Linked DNA regions of Homo sapiens: all the other regions are linked to region 3. The links are contacts of gene promoters, found by promoter capture Hi-C in blood cells and fetal thymus (Javierre and others, 2016). All regions are on one chromosome and are shown on one strand. The core of a region is centred on a gene start or on the middle of the fragment in contact, and the rest is flanking DNA. Distances in the headings are between cores, read along the strand shown.

Region 1 (2,700 bases), core at 187-2,686, 310 kb before region 3:
CTGTTGTCTTTCAGCAATAAGGACCACTAAGTTCCAATAACGACCAAGAAAAAGCATCCATTAATTAAAATTCATCAACTCTACTGTTCCATCAAACATCTCAGCCTGATGAAACTTTGGCTCAATTTTAGGAGTAAGTTTAATTCTGTAAATCCTAATAAGACTTTTATCAGCCTTATATTATACATCAGATACAATAATAGGCTTTTCATCTAGAACACACCTTTGCCAAAATATTAACTATAGCTAACTAATTCAATATATACATCCTAATGGAGCACCTCTAGTTTTTATGTGTCTATATATGAGACATATTGCAGACGCTACATATACTCAGAAACCTAGAATATCAGAGTAATCACATTATTTTCATATATGGAAATAGCATGGATAGACTATGTACTCCTATGAGGACAAATATTCTGAGTAACTACAGTAATAACAAATCCACTTTCAGCTATTTCTTATATCAATACTAATTAATACAATGAATCTGAAGTGGAGTCTCAGTAGATGATACAGTTTGGATATGTGTCTCCTCCTAATCTTATGTTGAAATGTGACCTCCAATGTTGGAAGTGAGGCCTAGTGAGAGGCATTTGGGTCATGGGGGCAGATCCCTTATGAATGATTTGGTGGCCTCCCCTTAGTAATGAGTGAATTCTCATTCTATTAGTTCAAGCAAGAGCTGGTTGTTGAAAAGAGCCTGGTACCTCCTTCTCTCTTTCTTGCTCCCTCTCTCGCCATATGACATGCCTTGCTCCCCCTTCATCTTCTGCCATGAGTAAAAGCTTCCTCACCAGAAGCCGAGCAGATGCTGGTATCATGCTTGTAGAGCATGTAGAACCATGAGTCAAATAAACCTCTTTTCTTTTTAAATTACCCAGTCTCAGGTATTCCTTTATAGCAAAACAAAATGGACAAACACAGTAGGTAAGTCCATCTGTACATAATTCTTCACTTTTCCCTATTTTTACATGAAACATGATCAAACGGCCCTCAGGATTAACATCAAACATAAATAAAATTCCATTCCACCAGTACACAATCAAAAATCCCTTTTCTTTTCCTAATTACACTACTACCGTATAAGTGAGCTATTACCACAGCTGACCCTCACACCTTGCTATCTCTGCTGTCACATGTGCTAGCAATATGGATGCATGCTATCTATCTTGTTGAGATGTTTATTTTCAAAATCAAAGTCTCAAATGAGTATAGCTGATTGGTCAGAACCTAGGTCACATGAATTCCTAGTCATAAAATAAGCTAGAAAACGTAGGTTGTTTTGTTTTCTTTAATCTATCTTGAGAAAGTAGGCTTGACCTTTATCAAATGCAATTCTGACTTTTTACCCACTTAAAAACACTCAAGGATAATTCTAAACTCTTTAACTTGTTATGTAAGCATTGCCATAATCTCCGATCAACATGTTTTCCAGATTATTCTCCCAATCTATCGCTCATCTACTTCCTACCCCTCTTCCTTCCTCTCTTCTTTCCTCTATCCCTCCCTCCCTCTCCTACACACACACACACACACACACACACACACACACACACACACCCTGTTGCTCCAGGATAATCTCTGAAACACATCATCATTACTGCCCTTGCTTCCCCTTGGTAATGATCTTCCCTCAGCTCAAATGGTAGCTGTGCATAAAGTATTCCCCAACTTCTTCCAGAGGAACCATTCATACTTGCCTCAAAATTACACTGTACACTGCACAGCACGTGCTTTATACTGTACCACATCCATTATTAGTCTATACATCTCCTTCCAGAATCTCCCATCTACATTCCTCAGTCTGAGTTAGAAGTTGTTCTTGTGTGCTCCTGAAGCAACCTGAAATTAACTCGTTTTGCTCTTATCACAATGTACAGTAACTGTCTGTTTCTTATACTAGCCTGTGAATTCCATTAAGGCTGGATGTGTGTTTATTCACCATTATATTCCATGTGCCTTGTACCATTAGGTGCTCAATAAATATTTGTTGAATGGCAAGCAGAAAAAATCAAAAATATATGTCCTAGTCTGCCTCATCTAGGAAAATGTTATGTACATGTTAGCCATACTGTAAAAGCTTATGAAATATTTGGGTAAAAAGAAATTACAAGATAAGGGTAAGTTTACAAGTTTGTCTTCAGACTTTCTAGTGAATGTAGAAAGCAGCAATTAGACTCACTTCATTACTGAAAAAGCCCTCCTGCCAATACTATAGTCCTGCTACCAAACTGGGATGAAATCGTGTGGATACTTGCCTATCTTCATCTATGGCCTTTATTTTCAGGAGCAGCACATGATCTCTTACAAAAATTCAATGCAGGTTTGTGGAACTTGGGAATGTGTCTTACCTCTGGTTTTACAAACCATTTGCCTGCATTCAGAGTCGATAGGAAATCCCAGTTGAAGAAGGCAGGGTTCTCGCAGGCAGATTCTGGCTGAACTTCCCCAATATTGGTTGTTCTTTTCAGGTCAAAGTCATGCATGAGGAAAGGCACATGATCATAACTGAGGCAGAGGTAGAAAAGAAGGGCAGGGGTAGATAGGCTGAATTTAGCTACCTTGGTAGACAGGCTCCCCAGACAGTCCTTCAAGGTCACAAGTGTCACTAGGGCTCCTTACTCCCTCTCAAATCTTAGAAAAGGGCTACATATCAGTCATTTACACTTTGATGTCAATATTTTTCTGCTCTAG
Region 2 (2,700 bases), core at 128-2,627, 270 kb before region 3:
AACCCCTTCCCCTCCCTTGTCCAAGTGTGTGCTCACCATTGCTCCATATGTAAGGGTGCACCCTTCTATAGAAGTATATTGCCTTGCTAAGAATTAAAAAGAAAATTTTATATTTGAGTGCTATTTCTTTTGCGGCACCGAAACTATAACAGTACCCAATCACCTAGTCTCTAAGGGAGAAATGGACAAATGCATAATCATGGTAGGAGATTTAACACACCTCTTAAAAAAAAAACAGAATAAGCAGAAAAAAAGTCTGTAAGGATATAGACGACTGTAAAAGTTGATTAACTAGTCTTAACATTTATAGAACACTGTACTCAACAAATGCAGAGTGTACTTTAAAATGGACATGGAATATTTATCAAAAATCACAATTGGTTTTAATAAACCTTGACATCTTAAGAATATATCTTCTGACTACAGTGCAATTTAACTGGAAATCAGTAAGAAAAACAAATTGCACATTTGGGAATTAAACACACAGAAACCTACGCATGGTCAAAGAAAAATCACAATGGAAATGAGAAAAAAACTTTCAGTTGGTTAATGATGAAACTACTGCATATATATAGAACTTGGTGTGACTAATTGCAAATACTGGGGTGTCCAAGGGCAGACGTTATGAACAAAAAGCTCTATGGGAGGATGGTAAGCTGCTTGGATATCGAATAAAAGGCAGCTTTTTAACCAGAATAATTACCACCACCATTGTCTACACACCTGCAGATACTTTGTGTCTAAGCACCAGCCAGCGTAGCCACGTTTACATGAAAATTCCTAATATTTAAGGGGAGATCGAGAAACACTGTTTCCTTCCCAGAGCTCTTCTCTGAATTCTACACTCATATATCCGACAGGCTACTGAAATCTCCATTTGGATTTCTCACAGGCACCTCAAAAGTAATATGTCCAAAACTGAACCCCTGATGTTTTTTCCCTCTAAAATCGATTCCTCCTGCAATCTGTCCCATCTCAGTAAAGGTCACCGCCATTCCCCAGCTCATGAGATCAAAACCCAAGGGTTGCCGCCCAGGATTGGCATAGTCGAAGCTGATTTTTATCCCCTTCGCCATTAACAACTAGAAAACTAGAAAATACACGAAGCCGCTACTGTCAGATACTGAACAGGAGGTCCAGGCCCGTAATCCTCGAGAGGGGACACAAACGACCCGACAGAGTGAGCGAACAACGTCAAAGGGCCTCAAGTTTGGCCGCCGACTAATAATACTAATAGAACTTCCTGCTTCTGGTGCTGCTTAGGGAGGAAGCACGGAACTGGGCACATTTACTTACCGAGACTTCCCAGTCCCAACCCAAATCCAATCTTCACGCCTGAGGAGACCAGCGTCTCTTAAGATGGACGCCTGGCTGGAAGGGCAGCCCGAGGGAGGCGGGGCGGGAGGGGGCGGCCTGGCGGGGCTGTGGGCGTGGTCAAGGACACCCCGTGCCAGAGCAAGGCTGAAGCTAAGGCCAGACCCCCAGCCTTGGCTCAGAGCCCCACCTTTTAAATGTCCGGTAAGGTATGCTCTCTTTGTTTTTGGTTTGGTTTGGTTCTTACAAAAAGAACTTGACTGTTTAAGTTTAGTCCTTGTTAATAACTTAGTTCAAGCATTACCAATTTTTTGTATCCCAGTTATTCATAAAATTGCCATATATATATATACATCTATCTATATATTTATATATTTTTTAAGAGACGGGGTCTTGTCGCCCAGTCTGGGCCTCAAACTTGGGCTCAAGCAGCCTCCTGCCTCAGCCTGAAGAGTAGCTGGGACTACAGCCCTGTGCCCCCCAGCCACCACGCCCAGGCTACCTCTTTATTTTATTTTATTTTTAACTATTTTTTCTGCCTTTTTAAAACAAATTTTTAATTTTTATGGGTACATAATAAGTGTATTATTTATACAACTCATAGTAGGAATACATGAGATATTCTGATAAAGGTATACAATGTGTAAGAATCACATCAGGAGGCCAGGCACAGTGGCTCACGCCTGTAATCCCAGCAGTTTGGGAGGCCGAGGCAGGTGGATCACCTGAGGTCAGGAGTTCGAGACCAGCCAGGCCAACATGATGAAACCCTGTCTCTACTAAAATACAAAAAAATTAGCCGGGCACAGTGGTGGATTCCTGTAATCCCAGCTACTCAGGAGGCTGAGGCAGGAGAATCACTTGAACCTGGGAGGCAGAGGTTGTAGTGAGCCGAGATAGCACCACTGCACTCCAACCTGGGCAACAAGAGTGAAACTCCATCTAAAAAAAAAAAAGAATCACATCAGGTACACTGAGTATCCATCACCTAAGCATTTATCATTTCTTTGGGTTATGAACGTTCCAGTTACACTCTTAGTTATTTTTAAAAATGTTCAATAAATAATTGCTGACTGTAGTCGCCTTGTTGTGCTGTCAAATATTAGATCCTATTTATTCTAACTATATATCTGTTGTACCCAGTAACCATCCCCACTTTGCCTTACCTTTTTTAAACCAGTTTCAACCACTCAAAGGGCCACAAATGGGCCTGTTTTCGCTTTTGTTTGTTTAATCTTTGATTCCTCTAGCCATTTCTCTGACTCTGACCTCGTTCCTGAGCTCTAGACCTTTATCTCCAACTGCCAGCCACTGGCCTTCAATCTGGCCGTCCTGCTGCAGACACCTCAAACTCAGTAAACCCTAACTTAAATTCATTATCTTTCC
Region 3 (2,700 bases), core at 21-2,520:
CTCCTTTTGCATTGAGTTTTACAGGATCCACCCATTTCCAAAGTTACTTAGGTCAGCAATTTTCTCCCATTTCCTTCATTGAGTTTTGTTCATAATACAGTTAGATTATTTTGTCACGTTCTTTATTTCATCTTGGGATCATCTATCTGAGCTCCTAAATGATTTTTTTAAATTTGCATACTTTAGGTTCTAAGGGTTCTGACAAATGCAAGGTGTCATGTATCATGTCACTATCATTATGGTATTACACAAAATAATGTCACCATCCTAAAATGTCCTGTGATTTACCTATTCAATCCTCCTTACTGAATTCCTACCAACTTGTTTTTCATCTCTGTAGTTTTACCTTTCATAATGTATATAAGTAGAATCACGGCCAGGCACGGTGGCTCACACCTGCAATACTAGCACTTTCGGAGGCTGAGGCGGGTGGATCACGAGGTCAAGAGATCGAGACAATACTGGCTAACATGGTGAAACGCCGTCTCTGCTAAAAATACAAAAGTTAGCCAGGCATGGTGGCAGGCCCCTGTAGTCCCAGCTACTCGGGAGCCTGAGGCAGGAGAACCGCTCGAACCCAGGAGGTGGAGGTTGCAGTGAGCCGAGATCATGCCACTGCACTCCAGCCTGGCAACAGAGCCAGACTCCGTCTCAAAAAAAAAAAAAAAAAAAGAATTATATAGTAAAAAGCCATCAGACTTGCTTCTTTGACTTACTGATATACATTCAACATTTATCCATGTCTTTGCTTTGCTTGATAGCTCATTTCTTTAAAAAAAAAAAAAAAACTGTGGTAAAATAAACATAACAATTTCCATTTTAACCATTTTCTTTTCTTTTTTTTTTTTTTGAGGCGGAGTCTTCCTCTGTTGCCAGGCTGGAGTGTAGTGGCACAGTCTCGGCTCACTGCAACCTCCACCTCCCAGGTTCAAGCAATTCCCCTGCCTCAGCCCCCCAAGTAGCTGGGACTACAGGAGGGTGCCACCGCGCCTGGCTAACTTATGTATTTTTAGTAGAGACAGAGTTTCACCATGTTGGCCAGGCTGGTCTCAATCTCCTGACTTCGTGATCCACCCACCTTAGCCTCCCAAAGTGCTGAGATTGAGGCAGAAATTTAAAAATAAATATGCATTCATTCACTCCAAGAAAAGTAACAGGCAAGGCAAGGGTTAAAAAGAAAAGAACAAGTTTTCCTCGGCCTAGCAAGCTCACTTCAAGGACAGTTATAAGATAATGCTGTTTGAGAAGCCAAGGCCAAAGGAATGGGCTGCAGACATCCCTCCCCTCCAGAACAAGGTTGAAGGAAAAAAAAAAAGAGAAAGACAAATTCCTTTACTGTTACTTCTTTCCCTGGCTTCTTAAGCATGATTATGTTTTACAAATGTCTGTATTTAGCCAGTTCTTGATTTTCTTTTGACACAGCTCCAAGGCCACCAGCTATGCAAGGCCACAAGTTATGCACTATATGATTAACTGCTTTTGTTTTACTTTTGTAAGTCCACTTATAAAAACCCTGCTCTGTCTTTGTTTAATGCTCAGGTTTTTGGATATAAATCCACTCAGCCAGTGCGTACCTAAAAATAAATATCTTCCTGTACTCTCATATTGGTCTCGCCATTCCTCAGTTTCCTGCAACATTTCTTGGCAAGCCAGCCAGGAGTGGAGATGACAGGCTTACTGTCTCCTTTGCCTATAGGGGGCTGGAGCCCTGGGCCAAGGGAGACCTGTGACCCCAGGTGCCGCCGGGAGAACTTCAGCCCAGAGGGGAAATCAGCTCTCCGTGACCCAGCACCCCTACCCAGCAGCGCAACAGATCCTGAGAGGAGCTACAGGATGATTCTAGAAACAGCGCACTTCAGGAATCATGGTAAGGTTTTGGGGCCCAAGGCAGGACCCATCCTGTAAGGACGGAAAGGGAGCCTGATCACCTCCCGGGGTATGCCTAATAGTCCGACCCAGAGGGACTGGGGGCGATGAGAGCGGCTGTCAATTTGGATGAAACTCTCACCCCAATCAACACAGGAAGCAAGAGTGGCTCACTAAGTTGGTTAGGAAAAGGAAACTGGAGGTGGCGAGAATGGCTTGCCACCCCAACTAAGGAAACTGGAGATGGTGATAGTGGCTCGTCACCCCAATTAGGTACACAGGAACTGGGAGTCGGTCCATCAGAGTTATGACTGAGTGTGGCTCCCGAATGGTTAACTGCTGTCTTAGAGTCAATTTGCTAGCCTCTTGTGTTTAGCAAGGTGGTGGCGGCTAATGCCTTAACACAGGGAGGCCATCCTAGCATCACAGAATCCAATTGTTTGGATCAGTATGTTACTGGGTGATGTTATGACCTTACAACTTGAGTCAGAACTCCTATAGCCATTCCTTTTTGTTCATGAACATATAGAAAGGCTTAGTTATATCTGGTAGTCCTAAGGCTAGGGCCTAAGTTAAAGCTTCCTTGATTTGTTGGAATGCATTTTCTGATTAGTCTCCCAAAGGAGGGTTTTTTTGTCCTCCTTTTGTGGCTTCATATAACGGCACAGCCATCAAGGAAAGATTTGGAATCCAGATGGGGCAAATTCCTGCTGCCCCTAAAAATTCTCTTATTTGGCATCGGGTGGTTGGGATTGGTAGTGCACAAACGTCTTGTTTTCACTCATAGCCAAGCCAGCATTCCCCGTGACTCACTACGAAACCTAGATATTTAAC

The links. The method cuts DNA at HindIII sites, captures the fragments that hold promoters and counts their contacts. A CHiCAGO score of 5 or more calls a contact.
Region 1: a contact is called between a fragment that was not itself captured here and the fragment with the promoter of LINC03030 in region 3, in 1 of 17 cell types (M2 macrophages). The highest score is 6.5, in M2 macrophages.
Region 2: the fragment with the promoter of GDPD4 here is called in contact with the fragment with the promoter of LINC03030 in region 3 in 4 of 17 cell types (neutrophils, M2 macrophages, M0 macrophages and 1 more); the score reaches 7.2 in neutrophils.

Annotation. Positions count from the first base shown.
Region 1 is chr11:77,256,029-77,258,728 of GRCh38, forward strand. It overlaps GDPD4 (glycerophosphodiester phosphodiesterase domain containing 4), which reads right to left. Exons shown (of 17, transcript NM_182833.3): 11 at 2,358-2,514. Among named protein-coding and RNA genes, the nearest start is that of GDPD4, 44 kb to the right of the region's middle. The HindIII fragment of the contact is 1,295 bases long and covers 790-2,084 here.
Region 2 is chr11:77,300,309-77,303,008 of GRCh38, forward strand. It overlaps GDPD4 (glycerophosphodiester phosphodiesterase domain containing 4), which reads right to left and starts at 1,378. Exons shown (of 17, transcript NM_182833.3): 1 at 1,297-1,378. The HindIII fragment of the contact is 12,830 bases long and covers 1-2,700 here.
Region 3 is chr11:77,569,819-77,572,518 of GRCh38, forward strand. LINC03030 (long intergenic non-protein coding RNA 3030) reads left to right here and starts at 1,271. Exons shown (of 3, transcript NR_130930.1): 1 at 1,271-1,492; 2 at 1,697-1,867. The HindIII fragment of the contact is 9,547 bases long and covers 1-2,442 here.